2 separate regions of the Homo sapiens genome follow, and region 2 is linked to region 1. The links are contacts of gene promoters, found by promoter capture Hi-C in human tissues and cell types (Jung and others, 2019). All regions are on one chromosome and are shown on one strand. The core of a region is centred on a gene start or on the middle of the fragment in contact, and the rest is flanking DNA. Distances in the headings are between cores, read along the strand shown. Region 1 holds the start of CACNG8 (calcium voltage-gated channel auxiliary subunit gamma 8). Region 2 overlaps VSTM1 (V-set and transmembrane domain containing 1).

What was found. Contacts are between HindIII fragments. The study calls those that stand out against the background at their distance.
Region 2: a contact is called between a fragment that was not itself captured here and the fragment with the promoter of CACNG8 in region 1, in 2 of the 25 tissues and cell types used here (pancreas and spleen).

The regions. Positions count from the first base shown.
Region 1 is chr19:53,960,521-53,966,238 of GRCh38, forward strand. It overlaps CACNG8 (calcium voltage-gated channel auxiliary subunit gamma 8), which reads left to right and starts at 2,417. Exons shown (of 4, transcript NM_031895.6): 1 at 2,417-2,905. The coding sequence starts at 2,623. RefSeq lists enhancers at 1-447, 1,258-1,778. The HindIII fragment of the contact is 7,710 bases long and covers 1-5,718 here.
Region 2 is chr19:54,036,360-54,042,077 of GRCh38, forward strand. VSTM1 (V-set and transmembrane domain containing 1) reads right to left here. Exons shown (of 9, transcript NM_198481.4): 7 at 5,557-5,594; 8 at 5,420-5,457; 9 at 4,466-4,721. The coding sequence ends at 4,602. Among named protein-coding and RNA genes, the nearest start is that of VSTM1, 25 kb to the right of the region's middle. RefSeq lists an enhancer at 1-101. The HindIII fragment of the contact is 3,712 bases long and covers 882-4,593 here.

The DNA of each region.
Region 1 (5,718 bases), core at 1,167-3,666:
CCAGCTGATGGGGGGCAGTGGAGACGGGCAAGCAATCAGGAGGCCAAGGTCACCCTGTACTGGGACCTAGGTTCTGGTTTTTGTTTTGTTTTTTTTTAATCCCCTCTTCGTCTAAGGTTTCCAGGCTCTTAACTATAGTGGGTTTGGGGGAAGAAGTTGAAGAAGCAGTGTGGAAGCAAGTAAGGAGTACATCCCCCAGAGGACAGTTGGGGTGGGGGAGACAGGCAGGGCTGGGGGCATGGTGGTCGGGGGAGAATGTGGAAGAGAGAAATGAAGGAGCCACGGGGCAGCGGGTGCAGGCTGGGAAAGTATTCCTAATTGAAAAGAGAGTTGTAGTCTTGCGGATCACATTTTTCAGAGGGACACAGTCTACTGGGGGGGCTCTTTCTGCATGTGGAAGAAGATGAGGGGCTACAGTGTGTGTTCCTGTACAGGTGAAGTCGTAGAGGGGAGTACTGGGGGGCGTTCCCAAGAAGGGAAGCCTGTGGGGGCCTGCGGAGGGGATTTTCCGGGGCAGAGGAGAACCTGGGAGCTATAGCGGTGGAGCAAGAGGAAGTGAGTCAAGGGAATTCTATATGATGAGAGAGAAGTTGGGGAGGATGCTTCCTGGTACATTGAAGAGAGAGTGGGCTTCAAAGTGAGTTAGGGGGATCTCAAGTTGGGGGAAACAGTGTGCTGAAGATCCCGTGTGATGATGAAGGGCTACGAGGAGGGGATTTGGAGGCAGTGGGAGCTGCTGTGAGTGCAGAGGGGCGGGTGGGTGGTACAGTGTGCCCCCTGCTATGGGAGTACAGGGCAGAGATTGGAATGGTCCTGAGTGGAGAGACATTTGGGGTCTGGAGGAAGCCATTCTTGCGAGTAGAAAATGCCGTGGAACTCACGGAGGAAATTTTTCTTAATGGAGGAGAAAACGATGGTTATGATATGAGTTCGTTTAAGTTGTGGGGGGGGGGGTGGCGGGGTGGGAAGATTCAGAAAACTCTTCTAAAGCAAAAGAGAGGGTGGGGGTTTTCCTGGAGTAAAGGCATAGTATGGGGTGGGGAGTGAGTGGCTTGTGGGGAGACAGTGGGGGCTGTGACAGGGAATGGGCTGGAGATGGCGGGGGGGGGGCAGCTTGCAAACCAGTGGGTCTGATGTTGGGTGCATTAGAATTCCCCAGGGAGCTTTTAAAAACTTACATGCGCAGGCCACACTGCAGACCAACCATGTCGGACTTTCTCAGGTGGGACTCAAACATCCGAATTTTTAAGGTCCTCGGGTGATTTCCAGGTGTGTTGGAGGCTGCCCGAGGCAGGAAGGGGGCTTCCAGGGAGAGGAGGCTGACTGAGGGTGGCTGGTGATTCCGAGTTGCACAAACTGTGAGGGTCAGCTGGGATTTTCTTTTTCTTTTTCTTCTTCTTTTAATTTTTCCTTTTTAGTTGAAGAGAGGTTGAGAGATTTATTTTTTCCTAAGGAGAGGAAACTGTGGGGGACCATTTGGAGTGATGGAATGACAAAAGCCAGACCGGAGGGGGCTCGCGGAGGTTACTCCCACGGAAGTGGTGCTACTCGGGCTTCTTAAGTTGTGGAGACGCTCAGGGAAAAGTTGGGCTGACAGGGAAGGGTTCTAGCGGGTGGAGAGGTGGGGCTTGCAGGGGAAGAGTGGGGAGAGCTGGTGGGCGCCGCATGGTGATGGGGCGGGGGTCGCTAAGGAAGGAAGAACGCGACGGGGGCTCCTGGGGAGGAGGCGGCGGCGTGGGGCTTGGCATCATGGCGGGGGGTGGCTTCCCATGCGATGAGGATCGTGGAGCCCCCTGGGGCGGAGGCGGCGCGGGCTAGGGGCGAGGGCTGTGAGTGTGAGCGGTGGTGGGGACTCCTCCGAGTGGGGTTAGTGGGATGGTGGGACGACTTTCTTGGGCAGAAGACAGGAGTGGAGAGAGATTTCATCTTATTTATTAATTATTAGCGGTGGTGGGGACTCCTCCGAGTGGGGTTAGTGGGATGGTGGGACGACTTTCTTGGGCAGAAGACAGGAGTGGAGAGAGATTTCATCTTATTTATTAATTATTAGCGGTGGTGGGGACTCCTCCGAGTGGGGTTAGTGGGATGGTGGGACGACTTTCTTGGGCAGAAGACAGGAGTGGAGAGAGATTTCATCTTATTTATTAATTATTAGCGGTGGTGGGGACTCCTCCGAGTGGGGTTAGTGGGATGGTGGGATGACTTTCTTGGGCAGAAGACAAGAGTGGAGAGAGATTTCATCTTATTTATTAATTATTATTATTATTATTATTATTATTATTATTTTTGAGAAAGAGAAGCAGTGGAGCCCCGAGTGGAAGGAGTTTCTGGAGCTGAGGCAGGGATTTTGGGGGGGGGGGGGCGGGGACTGGGGGAGGTACCTGTGCCTTCTTCTCCTCTAATGCGAGATCTCGCTCCTTGCCCTCCACCAGCCGCCGACCATGGCCGCGCTCTGACCCCCTCCCCGGCCGCAGCCTCCTCCTCGCCGCCCCCCTCCCCAGCCCCGCCGGCCCCGGGCCCCCCGCTTCTGCCTGCGCTGTGAACCCCCCCCCAGCCGCCGGCACGGCCCCGCCCCCGCTGCCCCGGTGGTGGCCCACGGCCCCCCGGCTGCCCGTGGTCAAACTGGAGTCGCTGAAGCGCTGGAACGAAGAGCGGGGCCTCTGGTGCGAGAAGGGGGTGCAGGTGCTGCTGACGACGGTGGGCGCCTTCGCCGCCTTCGGCCTCATGACCATCGCCATCAGCACTGACTACTGGCTCTACACGCGCGCCCTCATCTGCAACACCACCAACCTCACGGCCGGCGGCGACGACGGGACCCCCCACCGCGGGGGCGGCGGCGCCTCGGAGAAGAAGGACCCCGGCGGCCTCACGCACTCGGGCCTCTGGAGGATCTGCTGCCTGGAAGGTAGGGTGCGGGCGGCCCTCCCCGCAGCCCCCGCCGCTCCCCTCCGAGAGACCCTGAGCCTCCCGGGGCTGCCTGTCCCTGATCCTGGGGCCCCCTTGGGCACCCCTCCTCCTCTGCCAGAGGGGCTTCTGCGCCTTCCCACTCGCGCCCCTGACCTCCTCTCCCCTCCTTCCCACTCCTCCCTGCGTCCTGGCACCCTGCGGAATTCCTCGGCATGCTCCCTCTGCAGCCCCTCTGCCTCTCCGCTGAACCCCCTTATCCTATCTTTCCCTAGTCCGTGTCTCCTGCGCTGCCCCATCACACCCCTGCATCTTCCCTCTCTCCAGTACCTGGGGCTCCTCCTGTTTCATTTCTTCCACTCTGCCCTGTGCCTTTTCTCTTTTTTTTTTTTTTTTTGACAAGGTCTCACTCTGTCGCCCAGGCTGGAGTACGGTGGCACAATCACAGCTCACTGCAGCCTCGAATCCCTAGGCTCAAGCCATCCTCCCACCTCTGCCTCCTGAGTAGCTGGGACCACAGGCATGAGCCACTGTGCCCAGCTAATTTTTTTTATTATTTGTAGAGATGAGGTCTCCTGTTGCCCAGGCTGGTCTCGAGCTCCTGAGCTCAAGAGATCCTCCTGCCTTGGCCTCCAAAGTGCTGGGATGAAGGGCATGAGCCACTGCACCCAGCAGCCTCTTTCTCCCTCTTTCCCGTCAGTTCATCTTGACCCTGCTCCTCCGCTCCACCTGCCCCTTCATTTCCTCTCCCTCGTGCCCCGTGACATCTTCTCTCTCCCGACATTTCCCCCCCAGTCCTCTGAAGTCCCCTGCCTCTCCCGCCCCCTTTCACGGCCCAGTCTTCCGGTCTGTCTCTTTCCCCTTCTCTTTGGCTGCTGCTCCCCTGAAACTTCGTGCCTTAACTCGCCCTCACTCATGACTTTCTCTCTTTTCTGCCTTGTGCTTCTCCTCCTGTTCATCTTTCTCTTCCCATCAGTGCCCCCACCCATGTCTCTCCCACCAGGGTGCCCTCCAACCTCCCATCCTGGTCCTTTCCTCCTTTTTCCTTTAGTGGACTCCACTTCCTCTTCCTCCACTCATGCCTCCTTCGACGTCTTCCTGACTCGATGCCTCAGGCCTTCACGTTAAGGCTTCTCGCTCCTGCCCCTGCTACCTCCTCGGATCTTCGACTTGGTTCTTTTCCTCTGTCCTGTTCTCCCTCTCACAGCTTCTCTCCTAGCTCGGCTCCCTGGCTCTCGACTTCCCCACTTCTCCAAGACTCCTGCCCTCTGCTGTGCCAACCCCTTCTCTCTCCCACTCTTAGCATCAGTATTTCTTTCCTGAGTATCAAGTAGCTGCGGGGCTGGGAAGCAGGAGTCTTGGGTGCCAGTTCTGCTGCATATCTGCCCTGCTGTGTGACCACTGTCTTCCCTCCTGCACCCCAGCCTCACAGCCCTTGTCTGCAACGTGAAGGAGTGGAACCAGCCATCCTGATGCCCCCTTCGGCCAAAAGATTGAAATCTCTTGCTTCTCTTTTTCATCCCCCTCTATTTCCTCTGCCCCTTCTTCCTCTGTTTTGCTGAGTGTTCACGACAAGCCGGGAACGTTATCTCGTTTAATCCTATGAGGTGGGCACCACCTCGCTGTTGGGGATGGGTAAACTGAGGCTCAGAGAAGTGAAGTCACTTGCCCAAGGTCACCTAGCTGAGAAAGGGGCCGAGCCAAGAGCAGAACTCGAATCTCATGGATGGGATTCACAGATGCGCTCTGTCTAGTGTACAAAGTGTTTAAAACTGAAAGCAAAATCTGAATCCATTGCCAACAGTTAAAAATAGGGAGGCTTCCCATTGTAGTTCTGATTTCCGGCTTCTTCTGAGCTGGCGGAAGATCTAGCACAAGCCTGTGTTCTACCCTGACCACGATGGGCCGGATCTGAGCAGCAGCTGGGGGGTCTCCACTTCCCCACAGTCACCTCCATCTGCTCCGTCTCGCCTCCCATTCCTCCCACGGCTCTCGTGATGTTCTTTGCCTCTCCTGTGGAAGTTTGAGTTCATGTCCATTCACTGGTCTGACCAAGTACCAGGCATAGAGCCAAGTGTGAGGGCTCCCATCATGGGAGCCCTAGGACAGCACGTGGCATCTAGTAGGGATGTCATTCATTCATTCATTCGTTCATTCAACGTCCCATTTTTATTGAGTTTATATTATGTGCCAGGCATTGTTCTGGATTCTGGGGCTGCAGCAGTGGAAAACAAACAGACAAAACCTCCTGTCGTTATATATCTTATATTCTAAGGGAGAGACAGATAATGATGGAGGTAAAGTCAACCTTTAGGGTGTTAGATAGAACTGAGTGCTAAGGAGGACAAGGAGTTGGGGGAGGGGATGGGAGGGGTCAGGGATCCCCGTGGGAAGTAGATAAGGAATCTAGGAAAAGCTTCCCCGAGCAGGTGACATTTGATCACAGGTCTGAAGGAAGTAAGAGATGGAGGAAAGTGCTTCAGACTGTAGGAATAGCAGGCGCAGAGGCCCTGAGGTGGGAGTGTGGCTGTGTGTTGATCAAGCCAGTGTGAGGTCAGCGTGGCCGGGGCAGAGTGGGTGGCGGAGAACGTAGGAGTAAGAGGTGCAGTCGTAGGGGTATCAGGGTCCCCATCCCACAGGTTCTGTTTTTTAAAAATTATTTATTTATTTATTTATTTATTGAAACAGAGTCTTGCTTTGTCACCCAAGCTGTAGTGCAGTGGCGTGATCTTGGCTTACTGCAACTTCGGCCTCCTGGGTTCAAGCGATTCTCATACCTCAGCCTCCCGAGTAGCTGGAATCACAGGTGTGTGC
Region 2 (5,718 bases), core at 1,488-3,987, 76 kb after region 1:
ACACCATTCTCCTGCCTCAGCCTCCTGAGTAGCTGGGACTACAGGCGCCCGCCACCGCGCCCGGCTAATTTTTTGTATTTTTAGTAGAGACGGGGTTTCACTGTGTTATCCAGGATGGTCTCGATCTCCTGACCTCATGATCCACCCGCCTCGGCCTCCCAGAGTGCTGGGATTACAGGCGTGAGCCACTGCGCCCAGTCAGTTTACTTTTTAAAAAAGAGGTATAACGGACTTACAGTTCCACATGGCTGGGGAGGCCTCACAATCATGGCAGAAGGTGAAAGGCACATCTTACATGGTGGCAGACGACAGAGAAATGAGAGAGCCAAGCAAAAGGGGAAACCCGTTATAAAAACCTCAGCTCTCCTGAGACTTGTTCACTACCATGAGAACGGCATGGGGGAATGTGTGGGTGGAGGATTAGCCAGGTGCTGAGGCAAGAGACTGAAGGCACAAACTGTTGCAGTATAATAAAGAAAATAGAATAAGAATAGTCATAATACAAATTAGATGTAGAGATGATCATGGACAATTATCAATCATTATTATAAACATTATTAATCATTAGCTTTTAATATTACTCTTTGCTGCATTACTAATATAACCTAGGAATAACCGGCGGGTATAGGGTCAGGTGCTGAAGGGACATGGTGAGAAGTGACCTAGAAGGCAAGAGGTGAGCCCTCTGTCACGCGTGCATCAGGGCCGCTTGAGGGGTCCTTGGTCAAGCGGTAACGCCAGTGTCTGGGAAGGCACCCGTTACTTAGCAGACGGTGAAAGGGAGTCTCCTTTCCTTGGAGGAGTCAGGGAACACTCTGCTCCACCAGCTTCTTGTGGAAGGCTGGATATTATCCAGGCCTGCCCGCAGTCATCCGGAGGCCTAAACCCCTCCCTGTGGTGCTGTGCTTCAGTGCTCACACTCCTTGTCCACTTTCATGCTCCTCCCGTACTCCTGGCTCCTCTTTGAAGTTCATAGTAGATAGCGGTAGAAGAAATAGTGAAAGTCTTAAAGTCTTTGATCTTTCTTATAAGTGCATGGAAGAAAACGCTGACGTATGCTGCCTTCTCCCTCTCTCTCTGCTTCGGCTACCTAAGAGGGAAGGGCCCCCTCTCCTGTGATCACACGACTTGCTTCACCTTGTCAATCACTTCGAAGATTCACCCTGCTTACCCTGCCCCCTTATCTTGTATGCAATAAGTATCAGCGCGCCCAGCCGTTATGGGCCACTACCGGTCTCCGCGTCTTGATGGTTGTGGTCCTCCGGGCCCAGCTGTTTTCTCTTTATCTCTTTGTCTTGTGTCTTTATTTCTTACAATCTCTTATCTCTGCACACGGGGAGAACACCTGCAAAGCCCCATAGGACCCTGCAGGAATCCACCCCCATGATTGAATTATCTCCCACTGGGTCCATCCCACAACACATGGGAATTATGGGAGCTACAACTGAAGATGAGATTTGGGTGGGGACACAGACACAAGCCATATATCAAGGTTGTTCCTTCAGATGCAGCAATCCTGGGAGCTTCTGGTTAGGACAAGATACAAGCAGAGACAGCTTCATGGGTATTGTAAACTCAATGTTTGTGTCCCGACAAAATTCAGCTGTTGGAACCTAACCCCAAGGTGATGGTATTTGTAATACGGGAGCTAAAAAGAAATTATTGAGGCAGACAGTGAGGGTAAGAGAGTCCTCAGTAAGGTTTCCTATTAATAAAGAGCAGCCCCCAAATAATTTCTTTTCTAACAGAAAGCAGCCTGAAACATCAAGCTGCAAGCATAGATAAACAAGCTAAAATCTTGCATCAGCTGTGCCAATAGAAAACGGATGCCTGGGAGCCGGGTATATTCAACATGGAGGTTCCCTCTTCCCTTTTCTTTGTCCCCACATGTGCAGTAAAAAAGCAGACAACATGGCCCCGGCCAGGCAGAGACCCTACCTACGTAATAAAAGATTAGGGTGGGATGGCCAGCTTCTTTGGGGGCTATGCAAACGTCATACCTGGTCCGACTAATCTCTCAGGCCCTATGTAAATCAGACAGCACCTCCTCAAGCTTGTCTATAAAAGCCCCATGCATTTCACCACAAAACCAGGGGTCCCACTCGGGAACCCCTCTCTTCTCTGTGCAAAAGAGAGAACTATTCTCTTTTCTCTTTCTTTTGCTTATTAAGCCTTCACTCTTTTTTTTTTTTTTTTTTTTGAGATGGAGTCTGGCTCTGTCATTCAGGCTGGAGTGCAGTGGCACGATTTCGGCTCACTTCAACCTCCGCCTCCCAGGTGCAAGCAATTCTCCTGCCTCAGCCTCCCAAGTAGCTGGGATGACAGGCACCCACCACTGCGCCCAGCTAATTTTTATATTTTTAGTAGAGATGGGGTTTCACCGTGTTGGTCAGGCTGGTTTCGAACTCCTGATCTCAGGTGATCCGCCCCCCACTCGGTCTCCCAAAGTCCTGAGATTACAGGCGTGAGCCACTGCGCCCGGCCCAGTCTCTTTCACTATGTAAGGACACAGCAAGAAGGTGCCAGCTATGAACCAGGAAAAAAGCCCTCAGCAGACACTGAATCTACCAGTGCTTTGGTCTTGGACTTCCAGCCTCCAGAACCATGAGAAATAACTATGTGTTGTCTGTAAGCTGCCAGGTCTTTGGTATGTTGATAGCAGCCTGGATGGACTAAGACACTCTCTCCTTCCCTCTCATGCCCTGGACCCTCATCAGGGCCAGAAGTGGTTGGGGTGATGGCCCAAGCAGACTTTAAAAAGCACTGGCCTAGCACAAGGGTTGGCACGCTAGAGCCCACAGCTTGTTTTTGCAAATAAAATTTTTTGTTTTTAAAACAACTTTCTGGGCTGGGCACGGTGGCTCACGCCTGTAATCCCAGCACTATGGGAAGCCGAGGCAGGCGGATGACTTGAGGTCAGGAGCTCAAGACCAGCCTGGCCAACATGGTGAAACCCCATCTCTACTAAAAATACAAAAAAATTAGCCTGGTGTGATGGCAGAAGCTTGTAATCCCAGCTACTCAGGAGGCTGAGACAGGAGAATCATTTGAACCTGCGGGGAGAGGTTGCAGCGAGCTGAGATCACGCCACTGCACTCTGGCGCCTGGGCGACAGAGCAAGACTCCATCAAAAAAAAAAAAACTTTCTATAGATACATAATATTTATGCATATTTATGACATACATGTGATAGTTTGATACATGCACAGAATGTATAATACTCAAATTAGGGTATTTAGGATATTCACCACCTCAAACATTTATCTTTTTTTTTATCTTTTCGAGACAGAGTCTCTCTCTGTCGCCCAGGCTGGAGTACAGTGGTGTGATCTTGGCTCACTGCAACCTCTGCCTCCCGAGTTCAAGCAATTCTTCTGCCTCAGCCTCCCAAGTGGCTGGGATTACAGGTGTGCGCCACCACACCCAGCTAATTTTTGTATTTTTAGTGGAGATGGGGTTTCACCTTGTTGGCCAGGCTGGTCTTGAACTCCTGACCTCAGGTGATCCACCCATCTTGGCCTCTCAAAGTGTTGGGATTACAGGAGTGAGCCACTGCACCTGGCTCATTTATCGTTTGTGTTGGGAATGTTTCAAATCTTCTCTTCTAGCTATTTTGAAATATACAATATATTGCTGTTAACTATAGTCACCCTTCTGTGCTATTGAACACTTGAACTTATTCCTTCTATCCAACTGTGTTTGTGCCCATTAACTATCCCACCCCTTCTAGCCTTTGATAACTGACTCTCTCTTTACCTTCATGAGATCTACTTTTTTAGCTCCTACATGAGTGAGAACATGAAGTTGTAAATAAAGTTTTATTCTAACACCGCCACACCTACTTGTTTACATATCAGCGATGGCTGCTTTCATGGTACAACAGCAGAGTGGGGTAGTCTCAGCAGAGATCCTACAGCCCACAAAGCTGGACGTGTTACTCTCTGGTCCTTTTGTTTTCTGCCCTCTGGTCTAGGAGTTTGCAGCTCTGGGCGTTTTTTGTTTTTTTTTTTTTTTTTTTTTGAGATGGAGTCTCACTCCATTGCCCAGGCTGGAATTCAATGGCGCCATCTCAGCTCACTGCAATCTCTGCCTCCTGGGTTCAAGCGATTCTTCTGCCTCAGTCTCCCAAGTAGCGGGGATTACAGGCGCCTGCCACCACGTCCAACTAATTTTTTATTTTTAGTAGAGATGGGATTTCACCATGTTGGTCAGGCTGGTCTTGAACTCTGACCTCAGATGATCCACCCACCTCGGCCTCCCAAAGTGCTGGGATGACAGGCGTGAGCCCGGCCGTTTTCTTTTTTGCTTGTTGTGCTTCCTGGAGATGCTCAGTAATTCTTACATTCTTTCCTGGATAGCTGGTCAATCATTATTTATTATTTCCTTGAATTGTTCTAGGAGGAAATGTGGGGTAGAAAGAGTATGGTGGGGTTCTTGGGCATGAATAATCCATAAATAAGTCAGATTTCTTTTTAAGACGAGAAACTTAATTTTATTGATATGGACGAAGAGCAAGGAAACACAGTATCTGCATCTCCAGATTTCCGATAACCTTGGCCAGCACGATCCCCCCTCCTTTAGTGGCCAGGGCTGTCTTCTTGCTACACTTTCAGTGCCGCATATTCATGAGATCCTGGGGGCTCCTGGGTGGTGTCTGAAGCTGCCTCAGACAGGGCGCTGGTGCTTAGCTCAGCATAGGTCACTCCTTGGGGGTCTGCCGTCTTTGGAGAAAATAGATGAATATTAGAACTGAGTGTTCAATATGGCAGCCACTAGCCACACATGGCTATTGACATTTAAGTTAATTACAATTAAATTTAATTTAAAACCCAGGTCCTCGGTCACACCAGATGCATTTCTTTTTCTTTTCTGTTTTTATAACCCTTTATGCCTGTGACATCAATGGATCTGCGTAAGCCTTTTTTCATTTTTTTTAAATTTTTATTTATTTATTTATTTTGGGACAGAGTCTGGCTCTGTCGCCCAGGCTGGAGTGCGGTGGCGTGATCTCGGCTCACTGCAACCTCCGCCTCCCGGGTTCAAGCCATTCTCCTGGCTCAGCCTCCTGAGTAGCTGGGATTACAGGCGCCCACTACCACGCCCAGCTAATTTTTTGTATCTTTAGTAGAGATGGGGTTTCACCATGTTAACCAGGATGGTCTCGATCTCCTGACCTCATGATCCGCCCGCCTCGGCCTCCCAAAGTGCTGGGATTACAGGCGTGAGCCACCGCGCCCGGCCCATGCATAAGCCTTTTAAATGGAGATTTTGGTTCCCATTAGGGGAGTTTCGTGACTTGTCTAAGACCACATGCGTGATAAACAGTATACATTTCTGTATGGGCTTAACCAGGAGGCACACACGACCAGCCCATTGTGGTGAGGGAGCTCTTGTGGGACTCCTAAGCGGGAGGACTCACCGAGAGAGATACCCTTTCCATATTGGATAAATCTGCCTCTGAGTGAGAAAGGAAAAAAAAAAATCAGTTCTCAGCTGCAGAAGTCAGAACTTAGTCTTTCTATCCGGTGATTCCCTTAAACTTCCCCTGTCCCTTACCGGCAGCCTCCTGCTCCGGAAGTTTGGAATGGCTGGTTCTGAAAGAGAGAGACACACGTGAAAGGATGGGATGTGAAGATTTCGGGGAGAGGGTGAGGGCAATGGAGGGGAGAGGAAGGGAGAAGAAGGGAGAGGAGGAAGGTCACAGAATGGGCTGGGGTG